4 separate regions of the Homo sapiens genome follow, and regions 2, 3 and 4 are each linked to region 1. Evidence: promoter capture Hi-C in human tissues and cell types (Jung and others, 2019). All regions are on one chromosome and are shown on one strand. The core of a region is centred on a gene start or on the middle of the fragment in contact, and the rest is flanking DNA. Distances in the headings are between cores, read along the strand shown. Region 1 holds the start of POLR3H (RNA polymerase III subunit H). Region 2 overlaps SLC25A17 (solute carrier family 25 member 17). Region 3 holds the start of DNAJB7 (DnaJ heat shock protein family (Hsp40) member B7). Region 4 holds the start of RBX1 (ring-box 1).

What was found. Contacts are between HindIII fragments. The study calls those that stand out against the background at their distance.
Region 2: a fragment that was not itself captured here is called in contact with the fragment with the promoter of POLR3H in region 1 in 2 of the 25 tissues and cell types used here (dorsolateral prefrontal cortex and hippocampus).
Region 3: a contact is called between the fragment with the promoter of DNAJB7 here and the fragment with the promoter of POLR3H in region 1, in 1 of the 25 tissues and cell types used here (dorsolateral prefrontal cortex).
Region 4: a contact is called between the fragment with the promoter of RBX1 here and the fragment with the promoter of POLR3H in region 1, in 2 of the 25 tissues and cell types used here (dorsolateral prefrontal cortex and spleen).

What each region holds. Positions count from the first base shown.
Region 1 is chr22:41,542,918-41,546,364 of GRCh38, reverse strand. POLR3H (RNA polymerase III subunit H) reads left to right here and starts at 1,895. Exons shown (of 6, transcript NM_001018050.4): 1 at 1,895-2,374. The coding sequence starts at 2,264. RefSeq lists silencers at 1,705-1,804, 1,995-2,124 and enhancers at 2,175-2,264, 2,275-2,374, 1,697-2,534. The HindIII fragment of the contact is 26,348 bases long and covers 1-3,447 here.
Region 2 is chr22:40,808,974-40,812,420 of GRCh38, reverse strand. All of the region lies in intron 1 of SLC25A17 (solute carrier family 25 member 17), which reads left to right. Among named protein-coding and RNA genes, the nearest start is that of MIR4766, 3.3 kb to the left of the region's middle. The HindIII fragment of the contact is 9,431 bases long and covers 1-3,447 here.
Region 3 is chr22:40,860,863-40,864,309 of GRCh38, reverse strand. It overlaps DNAJB7 (DnaJ heat shock protein family (Hsp40) member B7), which reads left to right and starts at 2,197. Exons shown (of 1, transcript NM_145174.2): 1 at 2,197-3,447. The coding sequence starts at 2,316. The coding sequence ends at 3,245. All of the region lies in intron 1 of XPNPEP3 (X-prolyl aminopeptidase 3), which reads right to left. The HindIII fragment of the contact is 4,259 bases long and covers 1-3,447 here.
Region 4 is chr22:40,949,810-40,953,256 of GRCh38, reverse strand. It overlaps RBX1 (ring-box 1), which reads right to left and starts at 1,879. Exons shown (of 5, transcript NM_014248.4): 1 at 1,781-1,879. The coding sequence starts at 1,858. RefSeq lists enhancers at 559-1,147, 1,603-1,812, 2,327-2,917 and a silencer at 1,863-2,442. The HindIII fragment of the contact is 18,244 bases long and covers 1-3,447 here.

The DNA of each region.
Region 1 (3,447 bases), core at 646-3,145:
TTGAACCCAGGAGGTGGAGGTTGCATTGAGCTGAGATCATGCCACTGCACTCCAGTCTGGGCGACAGAGCAAGATTCCGTCTCAAAAGAAAAAAAAAAGAAAAGGCCTGAACCGAAGCAATAGCAGTGGGAGTGGAATGAAGAGGAAACATTTGAGAGGAAGAATTAATGGTAATCCCTAAACACCTTTACTCAATGCTTCCTAGGAATGTGTTAGGGGATTGTGGGAATAAAGAGCTGAAGTAGCATTTGCTGCTGTCCTCAAGTACCTCAAATCCTATAGAAGCACACCTAAAAATAAAATCATAGATGCAGGGAAGGCCACATTTAGCATCACTGCAGCCAGTGTCACTGAGAGATCACTATGCTTGTGAAATCAGCAAATTAAGGCACCATACATTTCCAAGTGCCTCTGTCATTTACCCCAAGTATCTTTTGTAAGTACCTAAATTGTTATTTTGGTTAAAACACACTACAAGCCCGGGCGCGGTGGCTCACACCTGTAATCCCAGCACTTTGGAAGGCTGAGGTGGGCAGATCATGAGGTCAGGAGATCGAGACCATCCTGGCTAACACGGTGAAACCTCGTCTCTACTAAAAAAAAATACGAAAAATTAGCCAGGCGTGATGGTGGGCGCCTGTAGTCTCAGCTACTCGGGAGGCTAAGGCAGGAGAATGGCGTGAACCCGAGAGGCGGAGCTTGCAGTGAGCCAAGATCGCGCCACTGCACTCCAGCCTGGGCGACAGAGCGATCCTCCGTCTCAAACAAACAAACAAACAAAAAAACCCACTACAGTATACATCTACACCCCACCAATTTTTAGAGGCAGGGTAGTGAGGTTCAGACTGGGCCCACCTCTACCACTTGTCAACACGTGATCTTGGGTAAGCTACCAAATTCTCTTAGCCCATGCTATCACGTGAAGATGAATGAGACTGGAATGTCAGCGAGACAGAGCATGATGGGGCTATAGGAGGGGGGTATGGTCAGATCTTGCAGGGCCGTGTGAACTACCATAAAGGTTTTGGACTTTTCTTCTTTCTTTCTTCTTTTCTTTCTTCTTTCCCTTTTCTTTCTTCTTTCTTCTTCTTCTTCTCCTTCTTCTTTCTTCTTCTTCCGCCTCTCCTTCTTCTTCTTTTTCGTTTAGACATGAGGTGTCACTGTCACCCATGCTAGAGTGCAGCATGCAACCTCAAACTGCAACCTCAAACTCCTGGACTCAAGCGATGCTGCTGTCTCAGGCTTCTGAGTAGGTGGGACTACGGGTGTACACCACCACGCCCGGCTTGGATCTAGTATTCTAAGTTCAATGGGTTGTGTTTTTTGTTCCAATTTATTATAACTTTTCAATTGGAACATAATGTCTACAAATAAATGCAAAAATCTTGCCGAGTTCAATTAGTTTGGACAATTATATACGTCAATGTTATACCACCGAAAACAAAATACAGAACATTTCCATCATCTCAGAACAGTCCCAAGTGCCCCTTTCCTGCTAATTCTCCTTGTCTCCGGAACACTTAAGGGTGCTAAGCATGTTATGTTTGCGGTGGGTTTTTTTTTTAACTTAGATGTGGTAATATATGTTTGCGTTTCCAAAGGATCACTCTGGCTGCCGAGCAGAGGACAGCAATGCGGGTAAAGCACAGGCCAGGCGAGGGATAATCAGGCGGGATTGCACGGAGGTCGCCTAGCAACAGAAAGCGCTGTCGGGGGCGGGGGAACCGCTCTGCTCCTGTGAAAGGAGGAGGCCCCGCCCTCTCCTCGCCCTCTCTCTGCCCCACGCTGTGCGCGAGCACACAGGCAGCCCCGCCCCGCCTCGGCGGGGTGGGGGTGGACAGAGGTTTCTTATTGGTGAGTTTTCCGGAAGCGATGGATTCGGAATCTCGCCCGCAGTCGCGCAAGCGCGAGCGGCTGTGCGCGGTGCGTGGTGCGTGGTGCGTGATACGAGCGGCGGCACGTGGCGCGGGTGCGGGGCGTGGAGTGGCGTGGCGTGGAGTGGCGTGGCGTGGCGGGGTCTCGCGGCGCGGGCGCGCACCCGGAGCTGTGGACGGAGAGTGCCTCCCTCTGGCCTCAGTTTCCTCATGTTGTAGTAGCGGAGCATGGCCCGGACCGGGCCCCCGAGACCGCCCCGTGCAACCTCACCGCCAGCCTGGGGGCCTCAGCGACTGGGACGGGACCAAGGGGCTCGGGGATTCTCCCTGCCCCCGGCCCTGGTGCGTGACTGACCCTCCTGTTCCCAGAGCCCCCAGCGCAGGCCGGGATGTTCGTCCTGGTGGAAATGGTGGACACCGTCCGGATCCCCCCTTGGCAGTTTGAGAGGAAGCTCAACGACTCCATTGCCGAGGAGCTGAACAAGAAGTTGGCCAACAAGGTACTGGGCCCACGGCTCGCGGGCAGGCCTTGGCGTGGGAGAGCGAGCGCCGCCCACTGGCCGCAGGCCCGGCCTCGGTCATGCCAAGCCCTGGCCGTGGGCAAGCAGCTTAATGTCTCAGAACTTTTCTTCACCGTGAAAGGAGATATTGAAGGGGATCAAAAGAAAATGGGCTTGAAAAAGGGAGTTGTAACTGGAAGTGTTAGATTCCACAATTCTAAATTACTTTGCAATTGCAGGCAAGTTACTGACCCCTTCTGGGCCTCAGTTTCCATTTTTAAAATGGGGATAAAATATTGCTGTCCTTCCAGCCATGCATTGTTTTTGTTGTTGTTGTTGTTTGTTTTGTTTTGTTTTGTTTTTTGTTTTTGAGACGGAGTCTTGCTCTTTCGTCCAGGCTGGAGTGCAGTGGCGCGATCTCGGCTCACTGCAACCTCCGCCTCCCGGGTTCAAGCGATTCTCCTGCCCCAGCCTCCCGAGTAGCTGGGACAACTACAGGCGCGCGCCACCACCCCCAGCTAATTTTTGTATTTTTCGTAGAGACGGGGTTTCACCATTTTGGCCAGGATGGTCTCGATCTCTTGATCCCCCCGCCTCGGCCTCCCAAAGTGCTGGGATTACAGGTGTGCGCCATCGCCTCGGGTCAATGCATTGTTTTCGTGAAGATGGAGAGTTCTAGTAGTACAGAATTAACTGTCAGGAGGTTCATCCCTTCATTCCAGCAGCCAATATTTGTGCGCCTTCTCTGTGCTGTGCCTGTGTGCCTTAGTACCAGCTGAGAGGTCTTCCCACTGCCGTTTCTTTGACAGTCCTCCCTTTCCAGGTATTCTGTGTCACATCACTCTCTTTCCTTCTTAGACTTTTTCCTTTCCCTCTCCTTGAGAGCAGGGACCTTATCTGCCTTCTTCCCTGAAGTATCCCCTCATTTAGCCAAAGCCTGGCGGGAGTAGATGTCCCATAATTTTCTGTTTTGTGTTTGTGTGTGTGAGACAAGAGTGCCGCTCTTGTCGCCCAGGCTGGGGTGCAATGAAGCGATCTTGGCTCACTGCAACCTCCACCTCCCAGGTTCAAGC
Region 2 (3,447 bases), core at 437-2,936, 730 kb after region 1:
GATTGCACACGCTGGGGGGACCAAGTCTTGACCAGATTTACCCAGTGTTTCATTCTTACTCTATCTGTAAGCCCAACTTCATATGTGGATTGTGTTGACCAAATTAAAAAGTATACTTTAGATATTTACAGGAGAGATATAGCCCAGAATGAATAAACCATCTTTTTTTTTTAGTAAGTAGCCTGAAATGTAGATGATGATGCATTCTTAAGAAATCCAGGTGCCAGGCTGGGCGTGGTGGCTCACGCCTGTAATCATAGCACTTTGAGAGGCTGAGGCAGGCAAAACACTTGAGGCCAGGAGTTTGAGACCAGCCTGGGCAATGTAGTGAGACCTCATCTCTAAAAATAAATAAGTTAAAAAGAAAGAGAGAGAGAGAGAGAGAGAAAGAAAAAGAGAAAAAGAAAGAAATCCAGGTGTCAGTTCAGAATTGTTCACAAAAAAGAGGAACCCCCAAATCCCCAAGAACTTAGGCTAAAAATCGTTTATGTGACTGATACAGTTTGGATGTTTGACCCCTCCAAATCTCAGTTTGGATGTTTGACCCCTCCAAATCTCATGTTGAAATGTGACCCCCAGTGTTGGAGGTGAGGCCTAGTGGGAGGTGTTTGGGTCATGGGGGCAGATCCCTCATAAATGGCTTGGTGCCATCCCCTTGGTGATGAGTGAGTTCTCACTGTTAGTTCATGGGAGAGCTGGTTATTTAAAAGAGCCTGGTACCCACGCCTCTCTCTCTTACTCCCTCTCTTACCATGTGACATACCTGTTCCCCTTTCACCTTCCACCATGATCATAAGCCACCTGAGGCCCTCACCAGAAGCAGATGCCAGCACTGTGCTGGCTCATACCTGTAGTCTCAGCTACTCAGGAGTCTGAGGCTGGAGAATCACTTGAGTCTGGGAAGCCAAGGTTGCAGTGAGCCACGATTGCACCACTGCACTCCAGCCTGGGCGACAGAATGAGACCCTGTCTCAAAAAAAAAAGAAATCTAGAAATAAAATGACTACAATTTAAAAGTTACTGCACGATTGGCCAGGCTCATTGACTCACTCCTGTAATCCCAGCACTTCGGGAGTCTGAGACGGGTAGATCACTCGAGGCCAGGGGTTTGAGACCAGCTTGACCAACACAGTGAAACCGCATCTCTACTAAAAAAAAAAACAAAAATTAAAAATAAAAGTTAATACATGATAATCATGGGAACACTGAATATTGATTTAAGCAAAAATCTTAACTATTAGAAGGATGGAGAGAATAAAGAGAGGGATTCAAGACCAGCCTGGGCAACATGGCAAAACCCTGTCTCTACAAAAAATACAAAAATTAGCTGGGTGTGGTGGCTCACGTCTGTGGTCCCAGCTACCTGGGAGGCTGAGGTGAGAGGATTAATTGACCTCCACCCAGAGGTGGAGGTTGCAGTGAGCTGAGATTGTGCCACTGCACTCCAGCCAGGGCAATAGAGTGAGACCCTGTCTCAAAACAATAACCACAAAAAAAGAGGGAATGTGGTATAAGAGAGCTGAATTCTCATTCCCCATAAGAGAATGTAAATAATGTCTAAAAATGATTAATAAGATATCAGTATATTATTATATGGAGATGTATAAATTCCAAAACAAACAACTAGAAGAATTTAATTGCCTCTCTGAAGGAAGATTGGATAAAATAGAGAGGAGTGGGGCAAAAACTGCTATATTTTGTCATTTATACTATGTGATTTTTTAAACTATGTGCATGCTTTGCTTTGATCGATTAAAAATTTACTATTAGAATATTTAATGCTCGGTGGCTTACGCCTGTAATCCTAGCACTCTGGGAGGCCAAGGTGGGCGGATCACCTGAGGTTGGGAGTTTGAGGCTAGCCTGACCAACATGGAGAAACCGTGTCTCTACTAAAAACTCAAAATCAGCCGGGCGTAGTGGCGCATGCCTGTAATCCCAGCTACTCAGGAGGCTGAGGCAGGAGAATCACTTGAACCCGGGAGGCGGAGGTTGCAGTGAGCTGAGATTACGCCATTGCACTCCAGCCTGGGCAACAAGAGTGAAACTCTGTCTCAAAAAAAAAAAAAAAAAGAATATTTAATGCATAGCTATGAATTTGTTAATTGTTGAAGCTTAGTGATATGTTCAGATTCAAGCACAGATTTCTGAACATATTAGATACAGCTGAAGATGCAATTAATGCACTAAAAGATAGGGACCACCAGTATACAAAAAGACACTGTTAGCACTCTGGAGATTCCAAGGGTCTTGGATGCTCTTGTATCAGGAACCAGGGACTAAGACACTATTATAACAAAAGACATTCCTATCATTCAGGAAATTACAAGAATTTTACCAGGAGCTCTGTGTCAGGAGCCTAGGATGAGGACCAGATATATACTTTGCATCATAATATCACAGCCCATCATTTTAAAAAAACCCTAATAAATGATCATCTGTAAGACATTAATTGTAGGATATAATTAATATCCTATATAATATATAGCTTCCTGGAGGTATTTACCTTTTTATAGAGTTTTCCTGGAAAGGACAGTGGCCAACCCAGAGGTAGTGTGATGATGTCAGGTTAGATGATAGTATATAATAATGAAGTTTGTTAATAATGTATTTTTTTTGTAGTTAATGGCCTCTGTTCAAACTATACTCATAGGACCCATTCACACTCCTAAAAATTTTCACCAACCCCAGAGTCTTGCTTATGTGGTTATAACAATCAATATTATTGTGTTAGAAATTAAAACTGAGAAATCATTGAGATATTTGGTTTTGTTTTTTGGTTTTTTTTTTGAGACAGGGTCTCACTGTGTACCCAGGCTGGAGTGCAGTGGCACAATCTCAGCTTACTGTAGCCCCAACAGCCCAGGCTCAAGCAATTCTCCCACTTCAGCTTCCCAAGTAGCTGGGATTACAGGCGTGCACCACCACGCTGGCTAATTTTTTTTTTTTTAATTTTTTTGTAGAGACTGGGTTTCTACATGTTTCACCATGTTGCTCAGGCTGGTCTCGAACTCCTGGGCTCAAGCAATCCGCCCACCTCGGCCTCCCAAAGTGGGGTTACAGGTGTGAGCCTTTTTGTTTGTTTGTTTTTTTAAAGAGATGTGGTCTATGTTGTTGGCCATGGTGGTCTTGAACTCTTGGCCTCAAGCAGTCTTCCTACCTCGCCCTCCCAAAGTGCTAGGATTACAGGCATGAGCCACTGAGCCCGGCCAAGATATTTGTTAATTCATTAAAAATCATTAAAAATACATTAGCTGGGTGTGGTTGCTCATACCTAAAATTCCAATGTTGTCTCGCCTCTACAAAAAAAAAAAGGTAAAATACATCCATTACATGTTAACATACATAAGCTATATTTTTTAAACCATATTTTCCAAAACGTCATAAGATGAATGGCATTGATGTATAGTTTTGCAAACCTCTCTTTGACTTGATAGAAGATAGCTG
Region 3 (3,447 bases), core at 948-3,447, 680 kb after region 1:
AGATGGCAATGACAGTAACCTCTGATTGTCCTCACTGCTACACTCCCACCAGCACCCCAAGAGTTTACAGATGCCATGGCAACGTCAGGAAGTTACCCTATATGGTCTGAAATGGGGAAGCATGAATAATCCACTTCCTGTTTAGGATATAATCAAGAAATAACCATAAAAATGGGCAACCAGCAGCCCTTGGGGCTGCTCTGCCTATGGAGTAGCCATTCTTTATTCCTTTACTTTCTTAATAAACTTGCTTTTACTTTACTCTGTGGATTCCACTGAAATTCTTTCTTGCACGAGATCCAAGAACCATCTCTTGGGGTCTGGATTGGGACCCCTTTCCGGTAACAGCAGGTTCTCAGTATCTGTTTGTGGAATGCCTAGAACCTAAACTCTTTAAGTCCTAGTCCGAGAAATGCAGTAGAGTGGAATGAGAACTTGAAATTAGACTCAAGTTTAAAAATCAGATTTTTCACTAACAAGCTATGTAGCCTTAGACAAATTACTTTCTCTCTCAGAACGTCTGTTTTCTTATGGGCATAAAATATTTATTTTGCTAGAGTGCTGTGTCAGTTAAATGAGCACTTGCTACAGTGTGACTCAGAGGGTACTCAAATAATTTTCGACATTATTGGTTATTATTTCCAGTGGTAGGCAAATTATAATCATGGGTAAGCCACACATAAGTACATGTAAGCACATACACTGGAGAGAATTTAAATTGAGTTTTAAGCATTTCACAATACCTCTAAAAAATGAGTATATATAAAAATGCAAAGCAAAAAAATATTCAGACCTGACAAATGGTCTTGAAAGACTAGAAGCATACACTACAGTTTTAGATTTCATTAGCGTATCATTTAACTGAGGGGTTATAAATGTGATGGAAAATAAAATAAACACAACATAGAGGAGGAAAAACAAAGATTACAGGGAATTTTCTCAGACAATAAAATGAGCCAGGTATAGAATATAAGACCTTTAAATTCGGGTCTAGACTACTGGTAGTTTATCCCCAAAGAAAATCACCTTTGGTCTGTTTCTAATTTGGCTCTCGAATTCTACTTTCCCATACATGACTGAATTTCCAAATAGTAGCCACTGATCCATTACAAATGTAAATCACATCATTAAACTTGCATATTCCCCACTCCCCACAAAGGCTTCCCACTGTACTTGAAATAAGTGCTAGCTTTATGTCCAACAGCCCCAACTGGCAACAACCAAAATGTCCATCAACATGGCCAGTGGCTACCATATTAGATCACTATGTGGCTGACTGTCATATAGGTCTCAGCAATAATGTCATCTCCTCAGAAGCCTTCTAAAACCAATCTAAAGTAGCGCTCTGCCCCCAGCACATTGCTATTTTTTTTGGAGCACATATCGCATTATCTTAAATTATTTTATTTGTTCTCCTATTTGTATTCTATTATAATGCAAGCACCAGGAAAACTGGTGTCTTTTGTTCAATACTGCTATCACCAGTGGCTAAAACGGTGCCTGGCACAAAGTAGACAATCAATAATTATACAGTGAATACATAAACACACAACTTTCCAAATCTTTAATTACATGTTTTACAGCAGTAAACCTTGGGTGGACAAAGATACTATAATCTCAAATGACTTACCACTGGCATGCAGAAAGTTAACATATCAGGCTACTTCCTCCAAGAGGCTTTCATTGACACCCCCAGCCTGAGCTGTCTCTCATATAATTGTTTAGCATCCAGTACTTCCTCTCATCATAACTATTATATTGTAACTAAGTTACTTGTTTGTATCTCCCTCTGAACTGTTTCTTGACTGAAATAAATATGTCAACTGTTTGAATACTTTCTTCACCCGTAAGTCAGTACTTCATTTTTCTAAACCAAAGCATAGAAGAGCTGGGAAGCAATTAAGGCGCAGTAATCTAGAGGTCATATTATGCAAGGGATATGCTGTGGCTATTAGCAACAGATTCCATTGGCTTATGAGGCACTGCCTGAAGCTTCCAGGGAAACATACAGGGGAAACAGTCCAGAGGATTCAGGATGGTCTGGTACGACTCTGGACTAGCTCTATTTGGAAGGTCCAGTCCCTACACTGACCCCAGAATGACACCATAATGCAGCCCTCTCTGACATATTTGTAACTCTGCTTGCCACATAATCAGTATCCTCATCTCTTAGCACATGGTAATAACATTGTCTTTAACATAAAAGTGTACCTATTTGCAGTCACTACCTCTATCACCACCACCAGCAGAGCCTGAGCTGAGGAAACCACGGTTCTCAATACCCAGCACACCCACTTCCAACTATCTGTTAAAACATGGTGGATTACTATGAAGTTCTAGGACTGCAAAGATATGCTTCACCTGAGGACATTAAAAAAGCTTATCATAAAGTGGCACTTAAATGGCACCCTGATAAAAATCCAGAAAATAAAGAAGAAGCAGAGAGAAAATTCAAAGAAGTAGCTGAGGCATACGAGGTATTATCAAATGATGAGAAACGGGACATTTATGATAAATATGGCACAGAAGGATTAAACGGAGGTGGAAGTCATTTTGATGATGAATGTGAGTACGGCTTCACATTCCATAAGCCAGATGATGTTTTTAAAGAAATTTTTCATGAAAGGGATCCATTTTCTTTTCACTTCTTTGAAGACTCGCTTGAGGACCTGTTAAATCGTCCAGGAAGCTCCTATGGAAACAGAAACAGAGATGCAGGATACTTTTTCTCCACTGCCAGTGAATATCCAATTTTTGAGAAATTTTCTTCATATGATACAGGATATACATCACAGGGTTCATTGGGGCATGAAGGCCTTACTTCTTTCTCTTCCCTGGCTTTTGATAATAGTGGGATGGACAACTACATATCTGTTACAACTTCAGACAAAATCGTTAATGGCAGAAATATTAATACAAAGAAAATTATTGAAAGTGATCAAGAAAGAGAAGCTGAAGATAATGGAGAGTTGACATTTTTTCTTGTAAATAGTGTGGCCAATGAAGAGGGCTTTGCAAAAGAATGCAGCTGGAGAACACAGTCATTCAACAACTATTCACCAAATTCTCACAGCTCCAAACATGTATCTCAATATACTTTCGTGGACAATGATGAGGGAGGTATATCTTGGGTTACCAGCAACAGAGATCCCCCTATTTTCTCAGCAGGAGTCAAAGAGGGTGGTAAGAGGAAAAAAAAGAAGCGTAAAGAGGTGCAAAAGAAGTCTACCAAAAGGAATTGTTAAATTGACTCTTCAAATATATAACATTTGAACACAATTGTGTGTGTTTTGGTTAATCACAAATTTTGTAGATAACACTTAATACTATACTAAGAGCTTTTCAACACTTTTAGCAGGATTGTGGACATTTGGTTAGTAGTTTTTTTGAATGGGTATGTCAGAAAAGGATGAGTTTGTGGTGACAGTTGGTGCTAATAAGAATTTG
Region 4 (3,447 bases), core at 630-3,129, 590 kb after region 1:
GCATTTTGGGAGGCCGAGGCGGGCCGATCACTGAGGTCAGGAGTTCAAGACCAGCCTGGCCAACATGGCAAAATCCTATCTTTACTAAAAATACAAAAATTAGCCAGGCCTGGTGGCGGGTGTCTATAATACCAGCTGTTTGGGAAGCTGAGGCAGGAGAATCGCTTGAATCTGGGGGACGGAGGTTGCAGTGAGCCAAGATCGTGCCACTGCACTCCAGCCTGGGCGACAGAGTGAGACTCCATCTCAAAAAAAAAAAAAAAAAAAAAAAAAGGGCACAAACTTGAATTTCTGTGCAGGTTTTGGTGGCAGTTGCAGAAGAGCTCAAAATCTGAATAAGTATCTGCTCTACACAGCTCTGGAAGCATGAGCAATGAAGTGAAAGCTAGAGAACAGAATGAACTAAGATAATGACTGGATCATAAAATGGGTAATCATGGGATAAGCTGGATAATTAAATACCCGTGTCAGTACACAGAACAAGGTCATCACTTAAATCTTAGATTACTTCATAACAAATTCTACAATTCACTAGAATTTTGATTCTTACCATAAAATAAACTGATGTTCTCAACTTTTATATGTTTAGACTCTTCTATTAAGATAATAATTCCAGTAAGAGTTTAACAGAATTTCATTCATTCAACTCTGGCTTCCTCAATTACAAATACTCCCAAACCTTCTTCGCTTTCAAACCCCATTCTCAGTGCCTAGTAACTTCTTTACCACTTTTCACATCACAGCTTCAAGGTGGAGGAAAAGCCCCTACTTCTATTATTTTTCAATATGGCTGCTGGCTGTAACTGAGCAGCAGTGGCCACAATGAGACACCAAAAAGCACTAGGACGGGGGATATTGTCAGTGTTTAGCCAGATGTTCTAGGAATATCTTCCCTATTTTAGAATCTCCATTTTGAACAGCTTTCATGTTAGGTGAGAATCGATACTGTTCTCCCAAACTGTGGCAAACCACTAAAAGGCATTTCATGCAAAAAGACACGTTCCATTTTTGCTTTCCCACGCTTACCAAGTCGTTCGCGACTAGTACTCAACCCTCCCTAACTGCCACAGGATTTGGGCTCGGATTTTCTTAACAAGTTCCACCATGCTTTTTATTATTATTTTGGAAGGGGGAGATTCTGGACGTGACAGAGAACCCAAGAGTGGGGTGGTTGTGTGAAAAGCCAACAGACGTCTCAGAAGAGCCAAGCATTACACTCCAGACTCTAACCAGGCAGTGTGAGGCCTCGGTTCAGCGAGGATCCCTCCAAGTGAGAGGACCCCTCCAAGTGAGAGGACCCCAAGCTTCAAAAAGGGGCGGAGCAAGATCACCAAGGGGGGTCCTCAGAGGCCTCTAATGCGGTAGGACCTCAGGTTCCAGGCTCTCGCCGCACTGCCCCATCCTCCACCGCCGCATTCGCTTCGACTCCCCATTCCACCCACCCCACCCCACCCTACCCTGTCCTTCCCCCACCTCTCAACCACTCCAGTGACAGCTCAAGCGCTTGGCTCCCGCCGCCAAGTCGCAACCCCGCGTATCTCAATAAGCAGCTCTGTGATTGGCCCCTTAGCCTCACAGCGAAACCAACACTTCCCCCAACAGTGGGCCGCCGTCACGCCGATCAACTCTAAGACCCGCCCCCCGGCTTCCTTTCGTGGTACCCGGTCCCAGGAACGCCCTGAAATGAAACCCTTTACTCCGCGCCTCGACCATCCTCGGGCCTGCCAGCCAGATCCGCGCCTCTCTAGCTTCCCTGAGGAAGGCGCTGGCGAGACCCAACCTTTTTCACTTCAAAGCGCTTCTTGCCCGCGCCGCTGTTGGTGCCGCTCGGGGTATCCACATCCATCGCTGCCGCCATTTTGGAAACACACGGTCTGTCGTCCGACCACCGCGCCTGCGCAGCAGCGCACACTTCGCTCCCCCCACCTCCCCGGCACCTCCTCCCGCACCCCACCCCTTACTGGCGCGCGAGGCGGAGGTGGGGGCGGAGCACGTGACCACGCCTCTTAAAGGGGCTGTCGCAGGTCGCCCCACCCGCGAACTGTAGGCCGGGGAGGGGGCGGTGGCCGGAGTGGGTGGGGCGGGGCCGGGCGGGGCCGGGCGGGGCCGAGGCTACGTGAGCTAGCCGGGTGGAAACGTTCGAAAGGGCTCGACGTCGCCGCCTCCTCTGGGAAGCCCCCGGCCGCACTCCGTCAGCTGGGGCGGCGGCTGCTTCCTCCGCCTGAGCCAGACCTGCGCCGCAGTCCTGTCCTGCCTGCCGGGCTCGCCGAGTCGCCGCGCGGCTCCCGGTGCTGGCGTGGGTGGGCGCCCGCGGCCTGCCCCGAAACCCAAGAGTCCTCGCTGGTCTTTCGCAGACTCTGACCCGCTTCCGAGCCAGGCCCAAGGTGCAGTCCCCGTGGGAGGGCTGGGGCCCAGGCACCGTCTGGTCTCCGATTTCTGTTCGGGAACTGCTCAGGGATTCGATGGGGAGAGAGGAGACCCCCGAAGTTCCTCCCTAAGGCCACACTGAGCAGGCCCCCAGCCCTGCCTTTACTCGCCCGCCAAGCCTGGGGGGTGGCCTCTGCGCCCACATAGTCGCAGTCCTAGGACCGCCTTTGGTCGTGGTGCACGGTTTCACCGTAACGTGTGTCAGTCCCCACTCCGCATTCCTCAGTTGTCATCTTTGTAGGGTGATTTCTCCCCGATCTGTGTCCTTTTTCCGCTGCTTGTGCTGTAGTGAAACCGACCCATCTGCAGTCGCTGTATTTCTTGAATTTTTGTGAGGCATTCTTTTTTAACTCTTGTTGCCCAGGCTGGAGTGTAATGGCGCGATTTCGGCCCACTGCAACCTCCGCCTCCAGGATTCAAGCGATTCTCCTGCCTCAGCCTCCCGAGTAGCTGAGATTACAGGCGCCCGCCACCACGCCCGGCTAATTTTTTGTATTTTTAGTAGAAACGGGGTTTCACCACGTTAGCCAGGCTGGTCCCGAACTCCTGACCTCAGGTGATCCGCCTGCCTCGGCCTCCCAAAGTGCTAGAGCCGCTTTTTTTTTTTTTCTTTTTTAATTTTTTTAAAAAATAGAGACAAGGTCTCACTATGTTGCCTAGGCTGGTCTCGAACTCCTGGGCCCAAGTGATCCTCCCACTTCGGCCTCCCAAAGTGCTGGGATCACAGGAGTGAGCCATCCCACCCGACCCAAGCACCTGTACTTTGTCACTCTCCCATTTCTGGCTAGACCAGGACTCCCTTTGACATCTCTAACCTTGCAGAGGTGTGACTCTGCCAGAGCACTCTTAGATGTCGTACAGGTGCATTTGAAGCCTTGTATTTTCTCTTAAAAGATAACTGGCGGGTAATGGAGCGTGCTGACTCTATTGCTAAAGAGAAAGAATAGGCTGGGCGCGGTGGCTCACGCCTGGGAGCCACTTTGGGAGGCCGAGGCAGGTGGATTACCTGAGGTCAGGAGT